Linked DNA regions of Homo sapiens: all the other regions are linked to region 2. The links are contacts of gene promoters, found by promoter capture Hi-C in blood cells and fetal thymus (Javierre and others, 2016). All regions are on one chromosome and are shown on one strand. The core of a region is centred on a gene start or on the middle of the fragment in contact, and the rest is flanking DNA. Distances in the headings are between cores, read along the strand shown.

Region 1 (3,227 bases), core at 168-2,667, 550 kb before region 2:
CCAGCTTGGGTGACAGAGTGAGACCCTGTCTCAGAAAAATAAAAGAAGGTGTTATTTGTAATCCTTTACATGTAAGCTGTCAAGCTTCTCAGTATTAAGGAATAATTCACACACCAAATATAAAGCAATCAATACTTTCCTTTACATACTAGGCATCTAGAAAAGGGTCCTAGGCTGGACATGGTGGCTTATGCCTGTAATCCCACCAATTTGGGAGGCTGAGGCAGGAGGATTGCTTGAGCCTGGGAACTTGAAACCAGCCTGGGCAACACAGTGAGACCCCATCTCTACAGATGTCTTTTAAAAAAGAAAAACTTCTTTTTCTTCTCTTTTTGCTGAGTAAAAAGACACATCTACCCCCTTATATATACTCACCCACATATATAGGTACACATACCTACATATACTCACCACTACACCTTACACATAACCCACATGACATATACAGGTACACACACCTACATACACTCACCTCTCTACCCTACACATATACCTACCTACATACACACACACACAGAACCTTAAAGAACAGTCATTTTGTTACTCCACATTTCTAGTGATGAAATTTGAATTCAGATCCACATGGCTCTGTCCATGTGGTTTAAGCCCAAAAGCTATATAAGAATACACTAAAATGTCCCCATTCACACTGTCCCCAGTCATCTTAAAGAACAGTTAGTCATTTTGTTATCCTAGATTTCTAGTGATGAAATTTGAATTCTACAGAGTTGAAGGGTGGGGTGATGGGGAGAAGTTATGAAGAGCTTAGGTCAGGTCCCCTTCATGGACATTTAGGGCCCTGCCCTTGACAGGACATGACAGCCCCTTCCTCCTCCCAGGTGATTGATTGATTGATTGAAATAGCATCTCACTCTGTTGCCCAGGCTGGAGACAGCGGTGCGATCATGGCTCACTGCAGCCTCAGACTCCTGGGCTTAAATGATCCTCCTTACTCAGGAGTGGCTGGGACTACAGGCATGTGCCACCATGCCTGGCTAATTTTTATTTTTATTTTTTTGTAGAGAGAGTGTCTCATTATATTGCCCAGGCTGGTAGGTTGTGATGGAGATGTCTAACACACAGACACACGTACACACATGCTTACCTGCATCCACTTACGCACACACACCTACATGCACAAACCTCACAGACATTTTGCTTTGCCAGGGTTGATCTGCCAGAAATCTTCATGGAGCTTATATCAAGGGATTCATACCCACCTGCTGGCATAACTGAAAAATGTCTAAATATATATATGAATTTTTTTTTTTTTTGAGACGGAGTTTCACTCAGTTGCTTAGGCTGGAGTGCAGTGGCATGATCCCGGCTCACTGCAACCTCCACCTCCCAGGCTCAAGCGATTCTCCTGCCTCAGCTTCCCGAGTAGCTGGGATTAAGGCACGAACCACCATGCCCAGCTAATTTTTCTATTTTAAATAGAGTTGGGGTTTTGCTATATTGGCCAGACTGGTCTCAAACTCCTGACCTCAGGTGATCCACCCGCCTCGGACTCCCAAGGTGTTGGGATTACAGGCGTAGCCACTATGCCCAGCCTATATATGAAAAATTGTCTGAATAGATGATCTGTTCATGTAGTTTAAGCCCAAAAGCTGTCCACGTGGATACAATACACTGAAATGTTCCCTCTCACAGTGTCCCCAGTCACTGTTGCCTCTCCCACAGCCCTAGGGGTATCCATTCCTAGATGTAAGTCAATATAAAAACACTCTTCTCCCTCCTTTTTATACAAAAGCACCAAAGTATTCATCTTGTCCTGATTTTGCTTGTTTTAGTTAACAATATGTCCTGTAGGCTGGGCGCGGTGGCTCACACCTGTAGTCCCAGCACCTTGAGAGGCCAAGGCGGGTGGATCACCTGAGGTCAGGAGTTCAAGACAAGCCTGGCCAACATGGTGAAACCCTGTCTCTACTAAAAGTACAAAAAATAAGCCGGGTGTGGTGATGCATACCTGTAATCCCAGCTACTCGGGAGGCTGAGGCAGGAGAATTGCTTGAACCCAGGAGGTGGAGGTTGCAGCGAGCCGAGATCGCGCCATTGAACTCCAGCCTGGGCAACAAGAGTGAAACTCTGTCTCAAAAACAAACAGAAAAACAAATAAAAAATCAAAAAAACCCACAATATGTCTTGGACATCTTTCTGTAATGGTACATAAGCAGACAATGTAAATTTGGACCTTACTTTGGTCAAAGCATGTCTGTCTCCTCCCTGGCCCAGGGTCACTTTATGGAAGCCACCTTCTATTACCTGTTACCTTCCATGACTCATAGTCTGCTGTCTGCTTCTGACTCCTCAGTTGTTGGATTTCCCCATCCACTGCAGTGGGATGGAGACAAGCAGCCCCATCACATAAGTATCGGGGAAGAAAGTGATAAATAGGTTCTCAGTGTATAGGCAGAGGAATTTTAAAGGACTCCATGGTGGGGTGAAAGGTCTGGAAATGTTTACTTGGTGACTGCACTTCAGGGAGCTTCATGGGTGGGTAAGAGGGAGGGAGAGAATATTCACTTAGTGCCAATTGCCTGGCACTATGCCATGTGAATGTGATACTGATTTGACAGTGATGCCAACTCAGGCTTTATTTATTCCTGTGGGCAAGTGAAACCTCAGAGAAGTTAAGTAACTTGCCCAGGGTTGCTCAGAGGTGCCGAGACATGAGCTGAAGTCTGTCTGACTGCGTGGTGTAGGCTCGTTCTATTGTATGATGAAAAGAAGAGGCTGGTGCCACCAAAAAAGCTTAAGGCCATTGCTGGAGAGAGTGGGTGTGGTACGACCACACTGGGGGACTGTGGCGGAGTCAGCTAAAACTGGCCATGTGCTTGCCAGCGTTCCCACCCCTGGGTATACACCCAAGAGAAAGGCGTGCAGGTGCTCACCAAACATATATACCAATGTGTCCACAGTAACATGGACCCTAACAGCTAAAAAACTGGAAGCTGCCCAGATGTCCATCAACAGTAGAATGAATTCCAGTGCACTCACACAATGGAATACTATATAGCAATAAATAAAAGGAATGGATATTTGCAACAACATGGATTAACCTCAAAAATGTTATGTTGGCAGGGTATGATGGCTCATGTACCCCCAGCACTTTGAGAGGCCAAGGCAGGTGGATTGCTTGAGCTCAGGAGTTCAAGACCAGCCTGGGCAACAAGGCGAAACCCCGTCTCCACAAAAAATACAGAAATTAGCTGGGCATGGTGGTG
Region 2 (2,981 bases), core at 81-2,580:
CCCAGGCCTGAAATTCTCCCCAGTTGCACTCCACCCACTTATGTCTATCACTTAGCTCAAAGCCAGTAAAGCTCATCTCTGAACTAGCAAAGATTCCCTTTATCCCATCAAAATGTCCTTAACATCTATCTTGAGGTCATGCAGCATGATCTTACTTTGCTGGCATTCTTTCCTTCTTCTGTGGATTCCCAAGCAGAGTACAGATGTACAGATTCCTTGGGGGATAAGAGCTGGAATTTCAGCTTCTTTTTTTTTTTTTTTTTTTTGAGACGGAGTCTCGTCTGTTGCCAGGCTGGAGTGCGGTGGTGCAATCTCTGCTCACTGCAACCTCCGACTCCCTGGTTCAAGCTATTCTCCTGCCTCAGCCTCCCAGGCAGCTGAATTACAGGCACACACCACCACGCCCAGCTAATTTTTGTATTTTTAGTAGAGACAGGGTTTCACCATGTTGGCCAGGACGGTCTCGATCTCCTGACCTCATGATTTACCTGCCTTGGCCTCCCAAAGTGCTGGGATTACAGGCATGAGCCACCGCACCCGGCCTCACCTTCTTTTATATCCCACACAGCACCCAGCACAGAGCACAAAGCTAAGCGCATCGATCCAGCGACTGACTGACTGAATAAATGAATACATGCTATCTTGCTTGTAGAAGCCCAGATTCCTCCTTCTTACGACTCCCACACCCACTTAGGAGATTCTATTATGTCTTAAAAGAAGTTACATCTCCATTAGTGTCAAAGCAACATTATATAAGTGGCTCAACATGATCAGGCATGAATTTCTTTGTTTTCCCACTCACCTGAAAGCCCAAAAACAATCCAGGTGGTGGTAAACACTTCTGATCCTTCAAAGAAAACGGAAGAAAGCGATCCCTACCGTCTATTTTGAATCTACCGTTTTTTGTTTTTGAGTGTCTTTTAAATCTATTCAAAATCCTTTAAGGGCATTTCACCATGCATGGGAGAAGGTCATGGATCCTCAACAAATTGCAAGAGGCCTTTCACAGGCTAGACTCTGCCTTGTTCTCCAAGCTCACCTTCCATAATCCTGATGTGCTCCATATTGCCAGACTCTTTCAAGTCCTTCCCCGCCCTGCGGAGAATCCCTACTCACACCTCAGGACCAGCTCAGACATGGTCTCCAGGAGACCTTTTCTAAGATCCTATGTGAGGTAACTAGCCCCCTTGGCACCTTGTGACATAATTATTCACTTCCATGTACATGTCCCGTAGTGAACTATGAGCACCTCCAGACCTTACCCTGCGTTTGGTCGCCTTGCTCTCCTCTCTGCAGCTGGCACCCAATCTTTCCAGGCTGTCTCTAGGGACTCGAGCCCTTGGGATGGGGTCCTCAATGCTTTTCCACCTGCCTGGCTTCTAAATTCCACTAAGATCCTGTCCCATTCTCTTGGAAACACTAGAACTTACTCTGACATGCCCTATGGAAGTTATTTCTCCACTGCTGTTCAAACCCACTCCCAGACCTGGCCTTCCCTGAGGAGAGCGTCTCAGCCAAATCCAACTGCCTCTAGCTCAAGTTTCCTTGCGGGGGGCCCGCTGGCCTCATCCTGTTAGGTCGTCTTAGAGCCACAGGAGAATCAATGTTCCAGTGTCAGCAGGAAGAATCAATGTTCCAGTGTCAGCCAGCAGGGGGCAGTGTGAAAATACACACACCAGGCCCTTTTTTCAAAGGGTCTCGGCTTCCCTGAGGGTGTCTATCTGTGCCTCTATGAAGCATGGCTTGGGTCATTCCTCCAGTCCCATGGCCAGGTGGATCCTTCGTTTACCTTTCATTTCTATTAAATGAGAACATTCTCAATTCACTAACTGGATTGTTGGAAAGGCAGCAAGCTCTGCTAGATAGTTCTAAATATTTGCATCAAATATGGACCAGAAATTGTGAATCTGTCTTTCAACGCCCTCGGATCTGAGTCAGCAAGGCTGCCACGTGCAAAAGTAGGAACGTTAAATACTTGAAGCTGGGAGAGAATAAGTGGGTTTCTAATCCTCTCTGGTGCATTCAGTTCTAGAAAGTGGTTCTTTGTATTCTACTGGAACATTTCTATGTATGGTTTTTTTGTTGTTTGTTTGTTTGTTTTTTGAGACAGAGTCTCCCTCTGTTGCTCAGGCTGGAGCACAGTGGCACAATTTCAGCTCACCACAACCTCTGTCTCCCGGGTTCAAGGAATTCTCCTGCCTGAGCCTCCCGAGTAGCTGAGATTACAGGCACGTGCCACCACGCCCAGCTAATTTTTGTATTTTTGGTAGAGGCAGGGTTTCACTATGTTGGCCAGGCTGGTGTATGTATGTTTTAAACATGCTTTAAAACAAAATTTCTTTTTAGAGATGGGATCTTGCTATGTTGCCCAGGCTGGAGTGCAGTGGCTATTCACAGGTGTGATCATGGCGCACTGAAGCCTAGAACTACTAGGCTCAAGCAATCCTCCCACCCTAGCCTCCCACGTAATTGAGACTACAGGTATACACCACCATGCCCGGCCTTAAACATGCTTTTAAATGTGTCATAAATCACATTTCTCTGATGAATAAAAAGAATTATCTAATGTTGAGAAAGAGTCAGTGTTTAATCATTTACCTCACAGTGCAGATTTCTTAATAAATTCTGTTATTGAATCTACAGAATTTAACATTATGTTATTTTTGGCCCTGAAGGCATAACTTCAAGCCATTCTGGATACTGAATGTGTTGCTGACATACACATTAGCAAATCACTCAGAAGCATATACACTTTATTGCATTATCAGTAACATGAAGAAATATTTCTATATCATGAGAAAGAGCACTTTCTTCTTGATATGTGTGTAATCCCTTGGTCTTGGGAAGCTAAGGCACAGCTTACAGAGGGATTTTGTATACCCCACTCATTACGTAGCTTAAATCAGGCTGGGTAAACATGTAAACCAAATGCAAATCATCAATCTACATATGTTTAAGAAATAATATAGACATACTGCTGA
Region 3 (3,256 bases), core at 524-3,023, 510 kb before region 2:
CTGTTCCGCTCACAGATGCCGGTTTGAATTTCACACCTGCCTCTGCCCACAGTGCTCCAATCCACCACCTACACCGCCCTGCACTTGCCCACTCTCTTGACTGCACCCCTCAGCATTCTCTCATGGGCCCACAGCCTCATGCAGGGATCTCTGGAAGTCAGAAAGACAACTGGGCATTTTCCTCTCCGTGGCATACCATGAGTGTGAAATGGGGAACTGCCCCAAGACCCCTGAGCATGGGCACTTGGCTCACAGGCCTTGTTCTTTTGTGGCTCCAATGTCTCTCTGCAGTCCTCTGTCTTCATGTGCAACAGCCAAGTGGCCAGGCTGACTCACTTTGCACTCTGGCCACAAGGGGCTCCCCAGTCTTGCCTCTGGGCTCTTGCACATGATTATCCTGGAATGCCCTTCCTCTATATCTGGTAGTGCTAGCTCCAGTGGCATCTCCTTCTGAAGTCTCTCTTACACCACTCGCTCCTGACCCAGCTGAGCTATTTTACTCTCCTCCCACCCGCAGCACATCACTCTCCCTTTTAAGTGCCTAAAGCACTATAGGTAACGATCAGTTTCCTGTCTATTTCACCTTTAAAGGCTAAGCTCTTCCTACCACTTGGCATCTAGTAGGTACCTGATACATTCTTGGACTCTTTTCTGTGTATCGCACCTTGCAGCTCATCCATCACCAACTCCTGTTGGCCCCTAAGTCCCCTCGACTTTCTTTGTATCACCTTCATGTTACTACCTTGGTCCAGGCTACCATCGTTGTCTACCTGCAGTGCCTTTCTTTCCTTCCTTCCCTCCTTCCTTCCTTCCTTCCCTCTCTCCCTCCCTCCCTCCCTCCTTCCTTCCTTCCTTCCTTCCTTCCTTCCTTCCTTCCTTCCTTCTTCTCTCTCTCTCTTTCTTCTCTTTCTTTCTTTTTTTTTGACATGGGGGTTTCACCATGTTGGCCAGGCTGGTCTTGAACTCCTGACCTCAGGTGATCCGCCTGCCTTGGCCTCCCAAAGTGCTGGGATTACAGGCGTGAGCCACTGCTCCTGGCCCCTGCAGTGCCTTTCTAAGCGGCCTTCCTGCTCCTGCCTTGTGCCCGCCCCCGGCTCCGAAGCTTGCTCTCTGTACACAGCTGGGGATCCTTTTAAAATATAAGCCTGAGCATTTCATTTCTTCACTTAAAATCCATTAGCCACTGAGTGCAACTTCCTGTCTTTTCTCTCTCTTCCTTATCTGTACTTTGACCTCCTGCCAGCTCCTTGGATTCCTCCTTCTCTGCTTAGCTGAGACTCCTACTCACCAGCACCTTAACTGTTCTCTTTTCCACCAACCCCCTCATCCTTCTGGATGTAGGGAGACTCATCCAGCCAGATCCTGACTCTGGAGCAATTTAGTCGCTCCTTGAACACGCTTGGGGTCTTTGACCTCAGCTCTATGTCCCATATTTCCAGTGATCTAGGCTCCTGTCCTCTGCCAGCTCTCTCCCTTTTCCTTTACCGGCTCTTTACTGCATCGCAGGTAGACAATGATGGAAGTGTTGATCAAGGTGGCATTAAGGAGGTAGTGCAAAGTTGGGGGGATTTGGCAGCCTAAAGGAGTTGGTAATGGATGAGGTGCAAGGTGTGATACAAAGAGTCCAAGAATGTATGAGGCACCTACTACGTGCCAAGCACGGTGTGAGGAGTTTAGCCTTAAATGGTGAAATAGAGAGGGAACATATAGTTACCTACAGTGTAACCTTTCCTATACCAAATCTTTACCCCTCTTTCCAAGCCTTGCAGCCTGCCCCTTCTTCTCCAGAGCAGTTGATCTTACCTCCTGTTTCACAGGGAAAGCAGAGGCCACAGAAACTAGGCACTCGCCCAGCCTTCTGCACCTCTCATCTTCTTTGGTAAGGAAGGGATCGCTCCTCCTACCCAAGGTTAGTGTCCCTACTTGTATGGTGGAGCCCTCGATCCTTAAGCCACCCACAAGCCTGCCTTGGTTACAGCTGCTGCCCCTTTGCTGGCTCCCTGGCCACCACCTTCTTCTCTCCACGTCTCCAGCCCTCACCTACAGTCTCCTTGTCCCCACCTGACCTCACTCTGCTCTGCTGCTTTGCCCCACATGTTCCACCCCTCCCAGGCCCTCAACCTGTAGACACTGCCCTCATCCTCCTGGGTGCCACTCATCTCATCTGTGGCTTCCCGGATGACAGTCTCTTGGTTTTTCCTACTCCTTGTCAGTTTCCTTGCTGCTCCTTCCTCACATCCTCACTGCTAAATGTAGGAGCGCCTCATTTAGTCTTGCAGTTTCCTGTCTTTGCATTCTCCTATCAGTGTCATCTAGGCTCATGGTGTTAAATATTGACTTTACAGCTCAGACCTCTCTCCTTAATTCCAGACTCATAGATCCAGCTGCCTCCTAGACATCTCCACTTGGGAGTCTAGTGGATCTCACACTTATCCTGTCCTCATGAAGCTTACATTTCACTGGGGAAGACAGGAAATAAACAGGATAAACAAGGAAAATGTAAAGGTATCAAAGAGTAAAGGTATACTAAGGAGAAAAAAATGAAGCAGGAAGGAAGATGGGGGCGAGTGTGCTTGTGATATGTGGCTAGGGGTGGTGGTATAAATTCTGGATAAGGTGGCCAGGAAAGTCCTGATGAGAATGTGACATTTGAGTAAAGAGCTGAATGAAGTGAGTGAATGAGGTGTGTGGAGATCTGGGGAGGAACATTCCAGCAGAGGAAACGGCAAGTGCAAAGGCCCTGAGGTGGCTCCGGTATGTTTGTAGAACGATGACGAGGTTGGTGTGGACAGAATGCAGTGATTGAGGGCAGAGAGGAAGGAGACGAGGTTGGAACTCAACCACCCACCCTCAATGCGCCCTCCCACCCTGTCTGAGACACCATCATCACTTGCCTTGATGAATCCAGCAGCCCCCTCACTGCTTGTGCCCCTGCCCCCTGAATCTTTTCTCACCCTGGCAGCTAGAAAGACTGAAAAGACTGGTCACGTCACTCCTCTGCTCAGAACCCTCCAACAGCTCCTCTGCCTCCTCCTAGCAAGAGCCTATGACCTACACAGCTCAACATGTCCCCCCAAATCTCTCCTCTCCTCTCCTTCCCTCGCCTACTCTGTTCCAGCCACATTGCCTTCCCTGTTGCTTTTTGGACATGCCAGATGCACACCCACCTTGGCCCTTTGCACTTTTTCCCCAGAATTTTCTTCCTCCAATATCCATGTGGCTCACACCCTCACCTTTGTGATGAGATCACACTGAC

What was found. The method cuts DNA at HindIII sites, captures the fragments that hold promoters and counts their contacts. A CHiCAGO score of 5 or more calls a contact.
Region 1: a contact is called between a fragment that was not itself captured here and the fragment with the promoter of PRNT in region 2, in 1 of 17 cell types (M0 macrophages). The highest score is 5.3, in M0 macrophages.
Region 3: a fragment that was not itself captured here is called in contact with the fragment with the promoter of PRNT in region 2 in 4 of 17 cell types (M0 macrophages, M1 macrophages, megakaryocytes and 1 more); the score reaches 8.7 in M0 macrophages.

What each region holds. Positions count from the first base shown.
Region 1 is chr20:4,188,681-4,191,907 of GRCh38, forward strand. No RefSeq gene overlaps it. Among named protein-coding and RNA genes, the nearest start is that of LINC01433, 2.8 kb to the right of the region's middle. The HindIII fragment of the contact is 2,670 bases long and covers 83-2,752 here.
Region 2 is chr20:4,739,338-4,742,318 of GRCh38, forward strand. It overlaps PRNT (prion locus lncRNA, testis expressed), which reads right to left and starts at 1,331. Exons shown (of 2, transcript NR_024269.1): 1 at 1,263-1,331. The HindIII fragment of the contact is 12,166 bases long and covers 1-2,981 here.
Region 3 is chr20:4,226,867-4,230,122 of GRCh38, forward strand. The region is part of intron 1 of ADRA1D (adrenoceptor alpha 1D); the gene reads right to left. Among named protein-coding and RNA genes, the nearest start is that of ADRA1D, 21 kb to the right of the region's middle. The HindIII fragment of the contact is 1,346 bases long and covers 1,101-2,446 here.